Regions from separate parts of the Homo sapiens genome. Here regions 1, 2, 4 and 5 are each linked to region 3. The links are contacts of gene promoters, found by promoter capture Hi-C in blood cells and fetal thymus (Javierre and others, 2016). All regions are on one chromosome and are shown on one strand. The core of a region is centred on a gene start or on the middle of the fragment in contact, and the rest is flanking DNA. Distances in the headings are between cores, read along the strand shown. Region 1 has its middle 6.2 kb from the start of UBQLN2. Region 2 overlaps NBDY (negative regulator of P-body association). Region 3 holds the start of ZXDA (zinc finger X-linked duplicated A). Region 4 overlaps NBDY (negative regulator of P-body association). Region 5 overlaps KLF8 (KLF transcription factor 8).

Region 1 (2,700 bases), core at 108-2,607, 1.3 Mb after region 3:
AAAACAACTTTGATGGGACAGGGCTAAGGTTGGAAACCTTTGATCACTTTGATATCTATATTGTTGAACACTGTCAATTCAAATTATTAACCCATCTACTGTCCTGTCATTATCATCTTGTTACTCCATTTTAATCTCAAGGATATTATGAGAAACTGCCAAACGGCTTGATGAGGTACATAATGTTTGCCTTTTGAGATCTCTGGAAGGCGGTTCAGCAAAAAGGTAGGCATCCTCCAGAGCACCTGAAGTACAAGTGGCCCATGTGATTGCTTTTTTGGAGACATACTGTTATGTATTAGGCCACTATAAACGGATGTATTTAAGGGCAGTTTCAAATATTAGCCACATCTTGAAAGTAAGAAAGGCAAAGCTCTTAAGTTGCAGTTACTGATTTATGACAGAGCTGACTCTCACATGTGCATTTTTGTGTAGACTGCTCCAATGTGAACAGTAGCAGAGATGTATTTATTTAACAAGAGCCAATGTTCTCCCGAACAACACCCAGGAGGCCAGCTAGTATACAACTTATAGTAAAATCTCTGATTAACAGACCAGTATAGTTTAATAGACTTAAGGGGAGGCAGTATAATGTACTGCTTAAGAGCATAGTCTAGAATCTCAGAACTGGGTTCAAACCTTGACTCTGTCACTTAATAGTAAGTAGTGTGACCTTGCTCAAGTTACTTAGTCTCATTCAGCTTATTTCCTTATCTGTAAGCTGGGGAAGCTTGTAATTGTGCTACCTTACAGAGCTACTACGAGATTGAACATAGCAATGAGTATGTTAGCTATTATTGTTATTCTAACCTAACAAAATTCAGTTTGGCAATCTTGTGAAATACATGCTAGGGCCGAGTAATCATCTTTCTTCTTTCTTTCAAGCTCATCAACCATGCTTTTAATAATGAATTACAGAATCTTTCTTGAAATTATCTTAAGTTTGCTAATCTACACAGTTCTAAATATGGATTCCAAAAGTGCTGTTTTAGGGAGCTCAAATCTGTGCTCAGATACCTCAATACAGCTGGAGCTATATGCCTCGATTCATACCCACTGGACAAATAAATGTTGTCCTTGTATGCTGGGACAAACAACTCCTTTTTAAAATGACATTACCCAAACTTTTGAACTTGTTGGTTTACAGCAGCTTTTGCCAAGGGTTTTTACCCATGGTCAAAGTGTGTAAAGCCTATGCAAGCATGTGCACCACCTGATGACGCCTGCTCTTTGAGGTGGCTTCAGTCTGATATCTGCTGAATCATGCTTCTCCTTTCTATTTACAGAAAACTGCTTTTCCCCTAAGTCTTCTAACAGAATTCTGGGAAAATGGTGGCATGAGAATAGGTCCTTAATTCTATGAGGCATTGTCTCATTCTGTCACCCAGGCTGGAGTGCAATGGTGTGATCTCAGCTCACTGCAATCTCTGCCTCATGGGTGCAAGTGATTCTCGTGCCTCAGCCTTCTGAGTAGCTGGAATTACAGGCGTGCAACACCACGCCTGGTTAATTTTTTTTGTATTTTTAGTAGAGATGGGGTTTCACCACATTGGCCAAGCTGGTCTCAAACTCCTGACCTCACGTGATCTGCCCACCTTGGCCTCCCAAAGTACTGAGATTACAGGCATGAGCGAGCCCCTGTGCCTGGCCTCAGTATATTTTTTTAATAATACTCAATTAGGAATATCAAATTTGCCAAATAATTTAATTTCTTTACATATACTAAATTAAGCTGTATGACAAACATTTACATCAGGTCAGTCTGGCTTTGTGGCTAGAGTTATCAGTTCATTTAGGATAGTGTCAAAAGTCTGAATTTGAATCCCTTTTTGAATTATAAGACACAGGCCAAATGGCTTTCCTGACATCTCAACCCTGATCACTAGGCTTGGCCCTAACAGGAATTAGTCAATTTGGTCCTATTTTGACACTGCAGATTAACATAATTTGGAGCAGGCTGTCCTCTCTCAGAGGGCAAGCTTGTCCACACCCAAATACAGGTGTCTCCTGATCCTAGTTTCTCAACTAGCATGGAGATCTCAACTTGATGCAAAAGTCCCCTTTAATGAACCAACAGGTTTTGTTTCCAAGTTGTGTATATGCCCCCTGCCCCTCCCCTCCCACACGAGTAGAGAAAGTATGTATGATATCACGTACCTGAAACAGAGGACAAAAGCAAATGAGGAAAGCTGTCTTGAGGGTGAAGTCATCCTGCTGGGTTTGCCCCTGGCATTAGCTCCCTCCCTACTACCACATCTTGCTGGATCGCAGAGCCATTGGGAGGGGGTGACAACCCAGTAAACAGGGAATGGATACAAAAACACTGTTCCACTCTTGTTGGATGGGGTGACAACCCAGTAAACAGTGAATGGATACAAAATAATTGTTCCACTCTTGTTGGAGGGGGAGGGATAGCAGGTCAGGATATACCCTTCTTGATTCAATGATGAATAAATGGATAAATCTTGGATCAATAGTAGATGAAGAAAACCCAAAACAAAAACAGAGCCTTTAAAAAGAACCTGCAACATAATAGGAGGAAATTACATCATGTAAGAGATGGAGGAAGAACAGTTAAAAGTAATTTTTAAAAGGCCAAAATAAATGAAGTTATAAGCAAAATAATAGTAGACTTAATAAAGTAAAGACGTGGATCTTTTCCAAGAGAAAACAAAATACACTTAAAAATAAACATTTGGC
Region 2 (2,700 bases), core at 7-2,506, 1.1 Mb after region 3:
ATTCCATTTTGCCATCTTGCTGCATAGGAATTTAATAAGTTGGGAGAGGCTGGCCAGGCATGGTGGTTCACGCCTGTAATCCCGGCACTTTCGGAGGCCAAGGGGCGGGCGGATCACCTGAGGTCAGGAGTTCGAGACCAGCCTCAACATGGAGAAACCCTGTCTCTACCAAAAATACAAAATTAGCTGGGTGTGGTGGTGCATGCCTGTAATCCCAGCTACTCGGGAGGCTGAGGCAGGAGAATTCCTTGAACCTGGGAGGTGGAGGTTACAGTGAGCCAAGATTGCACTATTGCACTCCAGCCTGGGCAACAAGAGTGAAACTCCGTCTCAAAAAAATAAAATAAAAGTTGGGAGAGGCTGCCTTGGGAGGTGCTAGCCAGACATCTATTGTTTTAAACAACTTGAGATATGCACATATAATACAATCCGTGATTTAAAGTGTACAATTCAATGGTTTTGGATATTTATAGATAAGCATAGATATGTGTAAATATCACTACAGTCAATTCTTATGCATTTTCATTAACCCTGAATAAAATCACACAGTCCTTAGACATCAATTCTCAATCATAACTTAAGGGAAACTCCATCCTTAAGCAAATATTTTTTCTGAACCTATAGACTTGCCTCATGTGGACATTTTATTTATATGAAATTATATAATATATGGTACTGTGTGACTGGCTTTTTTCACATAGCATAATGCTTTTGCTTTTCCCAGACCACCAGGCAAGAATTATTTTCCTTTTTTTTTTTTTTGGCATAATGCTTTCAAGGTTTATTCTGGCAGTATGTATACTTATTTCCTGTATATGACTAAATTAATATTCCATTGTGTGAATATACATTTTGTTTTCCATTCACCAGTTGATGGGCATTTGAGTTGTTTCCACATTTTCCTAGTACAAATATTTCTGCTGTAAACCGTCCTGTACAATTTTTGTTTGAACACCTGTTTTTTAGTTATTTTGGCTATGTATCAGGAGTAAAATTGCTGGGTAGCATGTTATTTCTTTTTTTTTTCTTTTTTTTGAGATGGAGTCTTGCTCTGTCATGCCCAGGCTGGAGTGCAGTGGTGGGATCTCGGCTCACTGCAACCTCTGCCTCCCAGGTTCAAGGGATTCTCCTGCGTCAGCCTCCTGAGTAGCTGGGCTAATTTTTTATATTTTTTAGTAGAGATGGGGTTTCACCATGTTGGTCAGGCTAGTCTCGAATTCCTGACCTCAGGTGATCCATCCACCTCAGCCTCCCAAAGTGCTGGGATTACAGGTGTGAGCCACCACGCCCAGCCATTATTTTTAACTTAGAGAGGAACCACAAAATTGTTTGCCCAGTGGCTGCACATTTATCATTACCAGCAACAATGCCGCATGTTCCTGTTTTCCCACATTCTAACATTTATTATTTTGCTATTTAAAATAATAATAATAATAAGTATCCTACTGGGTATAAATTGCTGTCTCTTTGTGATTTTGATTTGCATTTCCCTGATGACTAATAGTGTTGAGCATCTTCTCATGTGTAATTTGTGATTTGTATGTCTTCTTTACAGAAGAATCTATTCAGATCCTTTCGTTATAAAATTGGTTTATTGTTTGTTTTATTATTTAGCGGTAATTACTGTTTATTTTATTTTATTATTTTGTTTTATTTTTTGAGATGGCGTCTTGCCCTGTTGCTTAGGCTGGAGTGTGCATTGGTGCAATTTTGGCTCACTGCAACCTCTGCCTCCCAGGTTCAAGCTATCCTCCCACCTCAGCCTCCTGAGTAGCTAAGATTACAGGCATACACCACCACACCCTGCTAATTTTTTTTGTGTGTGTATTTTTAGTAAAGATGGGGTTTCATCATGTTGGCCAGGCTGGTGTCAAACTCCTGACCTCAAGTGATCCCCCTGCCTCAGCCTCCCAAAGTGCTGGGATTACAGGATGAGCCACCATGCCTGGTCTTATATATTTTAGATACAAGTCATTTATGAGACATATTATTTGCAAAAATAATCTTGCACTGTGGCTGTCTTTCAAATTTCTTGACTGTGTTCACTGAAGCAAATTTTTTTTCAATTTTAATTATGTCCAGTTTATCTTTTTTTTCCTTTATTAACTTGTGCTTTGGTGTAAGAATTAAAAATCTAATACTTAATTCAAGGTCACAAAAATTTATTCTATATTTCCTCCCAAGAGTTTTATAGTGTAACCCTTATATTTGAGTCTTTGGCCTATTTTGAGTTAATTTTTGTATTTTGCATGAGGTAGGGGTGGAAGTTTTTTGTTTTTTTGTTTTTTTTTTGCATGTAGATACCAAGTTGTCCCAGTACCATTTATTGAAAATAGTTATTTCCCCTTTTGTCTTGCCTCCTTCTCAGAAGTTAATTGGCTGCAAATTAACTTTTGTGAGGGCTTATGTCTGGACTTTGGATTCTATTTCATTGATCAATATTTATATCCTATGCCAGTACCACATAGACTTGTTTATTGTAGCTTTGTAATAAGTTTTAAAATTTGGAAATGTGACTCTTCAAACTTTGTATACTTCAAGATTGTTTTGGCTATTCTGGGTCCATTACATTTTCATATGAACTTTAGAATCAGGTTATAAATTTCTTCAAAGTAGGCAACCTTAATTTTGATAAGGGTTGCATTGAATAGTTTGATTATTTTGAAGAGTGTTGTCATCTTTATAATACTGTGCCTTCTG
Region 3 (2,700 bases), core at 111-2,610:
TTTCAGATTTGAAAAGTGCTTCCTCCAGAAAAAGTAATAGAAAGAAAAGTATGTGGAGTAGAAATTTTGATGAGGTTCGAATAGTTATGGTTGAAAAACTTGATTTTCAAGAGACCAAGTGTCCACTGTTATTAAAAGAGGGCGAGAGAGCTGGGAGTATTTAAACAACAGGTTACACCCCCCCACCCCCACCACCACCAATCTGTTCATCACTCTAAGCCTTCTCATCTCAGATATTTCACCCTATATTTGTGTCAATTCCAAACTCATTCGTGACAGACAAATTGGAGGATTGTCGTCATCATTAATAAGGACATTAGGCACCAAAGGCCCAGCAAGACTGGGCCACCACACTTAAATGTGAGCAGGTACACCGGGGCGAGTGGACAAGATCGTCTGTGCACATTACTTGGCAGAGTCCATTGAGTGACTGAGGGTTTAACCTTAACACATTTAACTGGAACTCCTGCCCAGAGAATGTGCTGGAGAATGCAGAATAAACTGAGCAATGCCCTCATTGTGCTATGAGAGTGGACATGAAGTTTATCATGGTACAACCGATCGTCGAAGGGCAAAGAGTTGGTTTAGGTTGTGCACTGTATAGGGAGAAGCCAGGGGCGGGTTGGGTTTTTTTCCAGATTTCAGTATAAATTGTTTCATCCTCCAGACTTTGCATTTGTAGGCTGAAGAGTGCTAATCTGTTTTGGCCGCATCTCTCACTCATTCTAATCTCTGTTATCAGCAGACAAAAATTGAACTATGTGGCAAATTGTACCGAGCACTTTGCTCAAGACAATTGTGAGTATGGAAGTTGTCCCGCGCAGAGGTGGGAAGGGGAAGGGCAATTTCCGCAGAAATGCCAGCACTATGGTGGTTTAATGCTGACACAGAGACAGTTTTTTCTCTCAGGAATTGTCTTTCATCCATCAATCCAGCCAGGTAGCCAGCCAATAAACAAATTTTAACACACAAAAAGTATGAAGCAACATGTCTAACACTGGGAGGGGCTGGCGTGTGTTTATTTGGGTATATACAATGAGTCACGGATTAAAATTGCTTTTACCAGATAGATACCTAGGTGTTCCACAGCATTATTGAACAAGATGTCGTCATTTCCCCATTACTTCAGAAGACCTCCTTAATTACTTATATTAATTGTAGAATATATTTATGCATACCAGGCTCTACCTCTGGGCTTTCTATTCCGTTCCAGAGACCCAGTACCAGAATATTTAAATCACTGTGGCGTTGAATACATTTTAATATCTGATAGGGCCAGTTTCTGCGCATTGCACATTTTTTTTTCCCCTTTCAGGAACGTGTTCAGGCCCGCGGCAGGGGGCGGGATCGCGCCTCCTCCTCGGCTCTGGTTCCAGCCGAGCCTCTCGGACGCAGAGATGGAAATCCCGAAGCTGCTCCCGGCTCGCGGGACACTACAGGGCGGCGGCGGCGGCGGTATCCCCGCGGGTGGCGGCCGAGTCCACCGAGGCCCTGACTCGCCGGCTGGCCAGGTCCCCACGCGCCGCCTCCTGCTGCCCCGGGGCCCCCAAGATGGCGGGCCCGGGCGGCGGCGCGAGGAGGCCAGCACGGCATCACGGGGCCCTGGCCCAAGCCTGTTCGCGCCGAGGCCCCATCAACCTAGCGGCGGCGGCGACGACTTCTTCCTGGTGCTGCTTGACCCGGTGGGTGGCGACGTGGAGACCGCGGGCTCCGGTCAGGCCGCAGGGCCTGTGTTGAGGGAGGAGGCCAAGGCGGGCCCGGGGCTCCAGGGGGACGAGAGCGGCGCGAACCCCGCGGGCTGCTCTGCGCAGGGCCCCCACTGCCTGTCCGCGGTTCCCACTCCGGCCCCGATCTCCGCCCCCGGCCCCGCCGCGGCCTTCGCGGGCACAGTCACTATCCACAACCAGGACCTGCTGTTGCGCTTTGAGAACGGCGTCCTCACCCTGGCCACGCCCCCACCACACGCCTGGGAGCCAGGGGCCGCTCCTGCCCAGCAGCCCAGGTGTCTGATCGCCCCCCAAGCTGGGTTCCCGCAAGCCGCGCACCCGGGTGACTGCCCAGAGCTGCGGTCCGACCTCCTGCTAGCCGAGCCCGCAGAACCCGCGCCTGCTCCGGCGCCCCAGGAGGAGGCGGAGGGCCTGGCCGCCGCCCTGGGCCCCCGCGGACTGCTGGGCTCTGGTCCAGGCGTGGTGCTGTACCTGTGCCCCGAGGCGCTGTGCGGGCAAACCTTCGCCAAGAAGCACCAGCTGAAGATGCACCTGCTGACGCACAGCAGCAGCCAGGGCCAGAGGCCCTTCAAATGCCCCCTGGGTGGCTGCGGCTGGACCTTCACCACCTCTTACAAGCTCAAGAGGCACCTGCAGTCGCACGATAAACTGCGGCCCTTCGGCTGCCCTGCGGAGGGCTGTGGCAAGAGCTTCACCACCGTGTACAACCTCAAGGCGCACATGAAGGGCCATGAGCAGGAGAACTCGTTCAAATGTGAGGTGTGCGAGGAGAGCTTCCCCACGCAGGCCAAACTCGGCGCCCACCAGCGCAGCCACTTCGAACCCGAGAGGCCTTACCAGTGCGCGTTTTCTGGCTGCAAGAAGACATTTATCACAGTGAGTGCTCTGTTTTCCCATAACCGCGCCCATTTCAGGGAACAGGAACTGTTTTCCTGCTCTTTCCCTGGCTGCAGCAAGCAATATGACAAGGCTT
Region 4 (2,700 bases), core at 174-2,673, 1.1 Mb after region 3:
CCGAGTGGAAGACATTGTGGGCAGTTTCGTGCCTGAGGTGTTGTGTGTGTCTGTGTACGATAATGCTTAAACCCGCACATTTGTACTAGTGTGAGCTTACTTCTGTGTGTGTGTGTGTGTCTGTGTGTATCTGTGTGTGTGTCCGCTTAGGCGTGTTTAATGTGTGTGTTTGTGTCTGTGTGTGCATGAGTCTCCATGTGCGTGTGTGTTTGTGATTTAATTTCTGATTGGGGGGTCCCTTGTGAGTGTATGTATTGTGTCTGTGTCTGTGGTCTGTGGGTGCCTGCCTCTGTGAGTGAGAGTGGGCAAATGGGCATGTGGCGGAGACACCCTGCAAAAACTGAAATCCGGATCAATGTGTTCACATGGCTGGACTGAAAAAAAAGGAGACACGGGACAACTTGCCAAACTTCCTAATGGCTCAGGATTACACACCTAGTGCATCCACGAACAGAACAGGAAATAACAGCAAGCCATGAGGAACTGGGTAAAGGATCTGTTCACCATGACATTTCACTTAAAAGCAACATGTGGGAAGGTTTTTGGTATACCAGAGAGACTAAACTGGTGACCTTCATCAGTGCTAAATTAAGAACAAAAGTGAAGCTTTCTCTAGGCCTAGTACTGCAGAGAGACATGCTGAATCACCAAGGAGCAAAAGAAGAAGCAGTCTCCTAGAACACTTGTCTGTCCTGATCTGAAAGTGAAGGGAAAAAGAGAAGCAGAGGCAAAAGCAAAAGACAAAAAAGAAGAAGAGGCAAAAGAAGAGGAGAAGGAAAGAAGAAGGAGGAGGAGGAGGAGAAGATGGAGGAGGAAGAGTAAGAAAACAAAAAAGAGAAGAGGAATTAAAAGAGTAGGAGGAGGAAGAGGAAGAATAACCAGAAAGAGAACAAGAACAGAAAGTGGGAGGTCCATGCCACTGTAGCTGTCCTGAAGGATCTAGTTAAGGAAGACCTCAGTGTGTGGTGACATACACAATGAGTGACAAGGAGCCCCAGGTCACCTCCCGTTTAAAGGACATACAAACGAGAAGCTTCTTGTCGATGGGATCTTTCCTGAGTGGGATCAAAACTTTGATCCACAAATTGGCCTGCAGAACTACAGAGTACACAAGTGTAGGCTGAACCTTACCCTGAGGATGTCATCAGCTGACTGCAAGGGGCCACCAAGCCCAAAGTCTACAAAACCAAGGCAGTGAAGAACCACCCAAAAGAAAAAGATGAAAAACGGGGAGGAATCGGACACCAGGGAAAAGAGGTAATCAGCCACCCATGGCAATATGGAGACACGGCAGAAAGAATAAGGAAATGCCAACTTCTCCTCGCAGGGTTCAGCTGGAGTCCTTCTAATTTCCTTAGAAACAGTAAGCCTGTTTTCCTTAACCATGTCCCCGTGCATAACTGACCCTGCCTTCTTGGCTGATTGTGACCTCCATAAACAGAAGCGGACGAAAAGTAAAGACAGTGAAGAAGAAAAAAGTGAAGGGAGGAAAACTCCAAAAGTACACAAAGAATCAGAGTGAGCAATGAGTTACAGAGTAAACTGGAAAGCAGAGTTCATCATATGGAAAGCTGACAGCCCTGTGAGTAGCCTCCTGTGTCCTCACACAGGATAAGGCGCCAGCCAGAAGAAAGCATAAGCCCCTAAATCCCGGGTCTGTACCGCGTCTGCACAAAGATCTGTTGGGCCAGGAGACTGCCCTGTTCCCTGCTGCCCACACCTCAACCCCATCCCGCACACTCCATCAGCAAATATTGGGAAGGCAGAGAGAAAGCAATAAGAAAAATGAACAGGAGGGAACGTGAAAGCTTAACAACTACCTCCTGAGGGTTGCTTAGATGACGGGAAACAGTTGTGAATGAAGGTGTCTAGGCAGAAGCTTGTCATTACTGGAGAAGATACTTGTATGTGCCTGAGGACCTATGCAACCACAGATGAAGACAGGATATAGTTCAGACGTGATTGATGTTCAAAGGTAAAAACAAGAACCTCTGACACTAAAACTAACAACACCAAAGTTCCTGCGTTCCTTACTTCACCCGATGTCCCAAGGCACAAAAGGAGGGGCCCCGAGGTGGATGGTATACACTTATGAGAAAAGGACACACATTTGTTGACAAGGAAACAGTTGAGATGTGATGGGAGTTAAAAGTTAAAACCGAGGACCTCTGACACTCACAGTCCCAGTGCCAACCCTAAAGACGCAGTCCAGATCTTCCTGCATTCTTTTCTTCTCGCGTTCTCCCTAGGCACCGCCAGAGGCGCACCCTGGTGCATGCTACCTACATATGAGGAAAAAAAAAAAAAAAAAAAAAAAAAATCCGCATTTGTTGACAAGTGACAGAAAGGGGGTGACTCCTGTTCCATGGTCATGTGGTTCTTCTGCCCGGAATGCCGTGAGAGTGCAGGCCCGCTCACGAGATTGACATTCCTCCTTGTGAGAGTGGTTCACACACCCCCAGCGTGGGAATCATCACCCGTGGGGTGAATTTTCTGCCCTAAGAAGGGCTGCTCGTCCCCAGGGTGGCCTACACATCCAGGAAGATTTGTAACAAGCCAAGACAGAAAACATTTGCAATATTCGGGGAGCGTTGTGTTCCATGCTGCTGTCCAGGCACCCAGCGGCATGAGTAGCCTATGCAACCTTTAGAGCAAGGCGGTCGCGGCTTCGCATCCCAACATGGGCACTGTATGATGTCC
Region 5 (2,700 bases), core at 18-2,517, 1.7 Mb after region 3:
GAGGGAGACTTTTTTCACCATGCACCCTTTAGTAAATACTGAATTTTGAGCCAGGCGGAATGCATTACCAATTGAAAATGCATGTTTTAGTTGAAAGTTTTTAAATTTTAGGGAAAACAAAACACGTGTGAGCTTTAGTTGGTCTGTAGGCTAATTGTTTGCACGTCTCGCCTAAATTAAGGTGGTGGCAGTTAGAATAATAATAAAGAAACAGATACCAGATACAAAGGGGAAAAAATACAACAGCCATTGGCATCTAATTAAATGAGAAAATGAGGAAGAGGGGAAAGGGACATGAGTACCACAACAGCTACATTTTCCCACTGCTTCACTTTCATGCCGCCTTCTAAGTGTTTACAAAATTAACACACTTATTCCTCACAGCAACCTTATGAGGTAGTGTCTATTATTATCCCCAATGCACAGATATGACAACTAAAGTACAGAGTTTAAATAAGTTCACCATTACTATGGTCATAGTAAGTTGCAGAACCAGGGAAGTGAAAGGAAGAGTCTTGAATGAGGAATGAGTGAAGAGTCCAGAGGTGATGATGGGCTGTATATTAGAAATGGTGAGTGTGAGGTTACAACAAAATGTCAAATTGCTAGTGATTTGAAATATCTGGATTGGGCTCTTGAGTTAGGTTATTGCTCCTTAATAATCCTAGAGCTTAGTTTGCCCACATCACATCTATTTTGTCTAAATACACAAATAACATCTTTTAGTATATTATACAGAACATCTAGCACCTTTCATATATTTAAATCCAGCTTCCTGTCCACTAATCTACATTCCACTTCTGCAAACACACAGCAGCATTTAAATAAAACAAATTTTTTTAAATAACAAAAATGATGAGACCGCAACTTATGAAACATATTAGATATCAGGCACTGAGTTCAATGCTTTCCTTACATTATTTATAATCACAAATTATCATGTCATTTTAGAGATGAGGAAACAGGCTAAATGATGAAACTCAGTTGAGGATAGTAAACATTAGCATATAAAAATCAGGAAGAGGTTGGGCACGTGGCTCATGCCTGTAATCCCAGCACTTTGGGAGGCTGAGGTGGATGGATCACCTGAGGTTGGGAGTTCGAGACCAGCCTGACCAACATGGAGAAACCCCGTCTCCACTAAAAATACAAAATTAGCCAGGTATGGTGGTGCATGCCTGTAATCCCAGCTACTCAGGAGGCTGAGGCAGGAGAATCACTTGAACCTGGGAGGCGAAGGTTGCGGCAAGCCGAGATCACGCCATTGCACTCCAGCCTGGGCAACAAGGGCGAAACACCGTGTCAAAAAAAAAAAAAAAAATCAGGAAGAATACCAAACATGATCTCACACTGTCTTTGAATAAACAAATGAGCCCAATACTACAATGTTATTCCCTTATTCATACTCTACTTAACAATAAGATGGTAATCATACTAGATGATCATCTATGTCAATCATCCTAATTAAGTTTTCCTTCATTCACAAAATCATGGCATTGTAAAGCTAGATCTTAGAAGATCATATACTGCCCCCACCGCACCAGGCACAGACAATCTGGCAAGATCAAAAATGACTAGGCTCTGTTTGCTACTTTGGTTATTGGAATTCACTTAGCCAATGAGAACCCCACCTCAGAAATGCATGTATTAGAACAATGAGAGTGGTGATGGTAGTCTGCTACATGGTTATTTTTTTCCCAATTTCCAATGTGCCCTGAAAAGTCTAAACAAGAGGGATGTATAGCTCCTGAGGGCTCTGAAGGTACAGCCATTAAGTAAGTTGGTCTTGAGGGTGGACTACATAGATGCACCTGTCATTTTTACTTTTGAGGTTATTATTTCTACTCTTCCTATGTTTTCTGCCTGTCTGCCCTCCAGGCTTACCTGAAGACATTGCTCCCCACCCATTCTCTGTGTCCCCAGCAGTCACCAAAGGTCAACAACTCTCAAGGGCTTCCCCATAACTCTGAAGAATGGGATGAGGTCATTTACCTATCACTTGTTTCTGTTGTCCAAAAGTCCTGTTGGTTATATCATTCTGGTTAAGTTGCCCAAAGAATGAGAGAAAAGGCAGGCTAGTAGCCCTTTCTTTCAGAAGTGATGAAGTCTGGTGGAAACAATGTTAAATCAGAAGCAAATAAAACCTGTGTTCTAGCCTCAGCCTTTGGACAAACTAATTCAGTCTTCCTAAGTTTCGTTTTACCACATCTGGAAGGTGTTTTAAGGACAGAAAAACACTAATTTTATCAGCAGTGGTCCAGAAAAATAGTTCCAAACTGAGTAGAAAAGGGAAGTTGAACTAAGATACAAGTGGCAGCCTCTGCCACATACACAAGATATTTCATCCACCCGAGTATCTACTGAGATAGAATTATTAATCTGCATTCTATGGAAGAGAAAAGCAAGGCCCAGGGTGATGCAGCTAATAAGTGGTGATACTAGGGTTTCAAAGCAGATTACCCCAAACCATGGCAATCTCCATCAGTTTCAAATCCAAATTTAAAGATTATTCTTTTTGCTCAATTATTACCACACTGGGTGACAGGTGCTTAATAAATGCGTTTCTTCACGATGAATATAATACCAAAAGAAATAAGACATGGTGCCTTTGGCCACCTGTTTGGATGTGATTTATTTTTTCCCAAATTCTTAGGGTTAAAAAAAAAAGCCCACAAAAAGACAGCTCCGCCAAGTGGCTAA

Evidence for each region. Contacts are between HindIII fragments. The CHiCAGO score rates a contact against its expected background, and 5 or more counts as called.
Region 1: a fragment that was not itself captured here is called in contact with the fragment with the promoter of ZXDA in region 3 in 4 of 17 cell types (monocytes, M1 macrophages, non-activated CD4 T cells and 1 more); the score reaches 8.4 in monocytes.
Region 2: a fragment that was not itself captured here is called in contact with the fragment with the promoter of ZXDA in region 3 in 10 of 17 cell types (monocytes, non-activated CD4 T cells, naive CD4 T cells and 7 more); the score reaches 12.1 in monocytes.
Region 4: a fragment that was not itself captured here is called in contact with the fragment with the promoter of ZXDA in region 3 in 11 of 17 cell types (monocytes, naive CD4 T cells, M2 macrophages and 8 more); the score reaches 16.2 in monocytes.
Region 5: a contact is called between a fragment that was not itself captured here and the fragment with the promoter of ZXDA in region 3, in 1 of 17 cell types (M0 macrophages). The highest score is 6.9, in M0 macrophages.

Annotation. Positions count from the first base shown.
Region 1 is chrX:56,568,459-56,571,158 of GRCh38, reverse strand. No RefSeq gene overlaps it. Among named protein-coding and RNA genes, the nearest start is that of UBQLN2, 6.2 kb to the right of the region's middle. The HindIII fragment of the contact is 1,249 bases long and covers 733-1,981 here.
Region 2 is chrX:56,818,578-56,821,277 of GRCh38, reverse strand. It overlaps NBDY (negative regulator of P-body association), which reads right to left. Exons shown (of 3, transcript NM_001348129.2): 3 at 2,099-2,700. Among named protein-coding and RNA genes, the nearest start is that of NBDY, 91 kb to the right of the region's middle. RefSeq lists a silencer at 828-1,122. The HindIII fragment of the contact is 3,504 bases long and covers 1-2,700 here.
Region 3 is chrX:57,909,118-57,911,817 of GRCh38, reverse strand. It overlaps ZXDA (zinc finger X-linked duplicated A), which reads left to right and starts at 1,360. Exons shown (of 1, transcript NM_007156.5): 1 at 1,360-2,700. The coding sequence starts at 1,398. RefSeq lists a silencer at 1,933-2,192. The HindIII fragment of the contact is 7,022 bases long and covers 1-2,700 here.
Region 4 is chrX:56,780,403-56,783,102 of GRCh38, reverse strand. The region is part of intron 2 of NBDY (negative regulator of P-body association); the gene reads right to left. Among named protein-coding and RNA genes, the nearest start is that of NBDY, 53 kb to the right of the region's middle. RefSeq lists an enhancer at 394-533. The HindIII fragment of the contact is 775 bases long and covers 1,036-1,810 here.
Region 5 is chrX:56,234,038-56,236,737 of GRCh38, reverse strand. The region is part of intron 1 of KLF8 (KLF transcription factor 8); the gene reads right to left. Among named protein-coding and RNA genes, the nearest start is that of KLF8, 3.0 kb to the right of the region's middle. The HindIII fragment of the contact is 3,409 bases long and covers 1-2,700 here.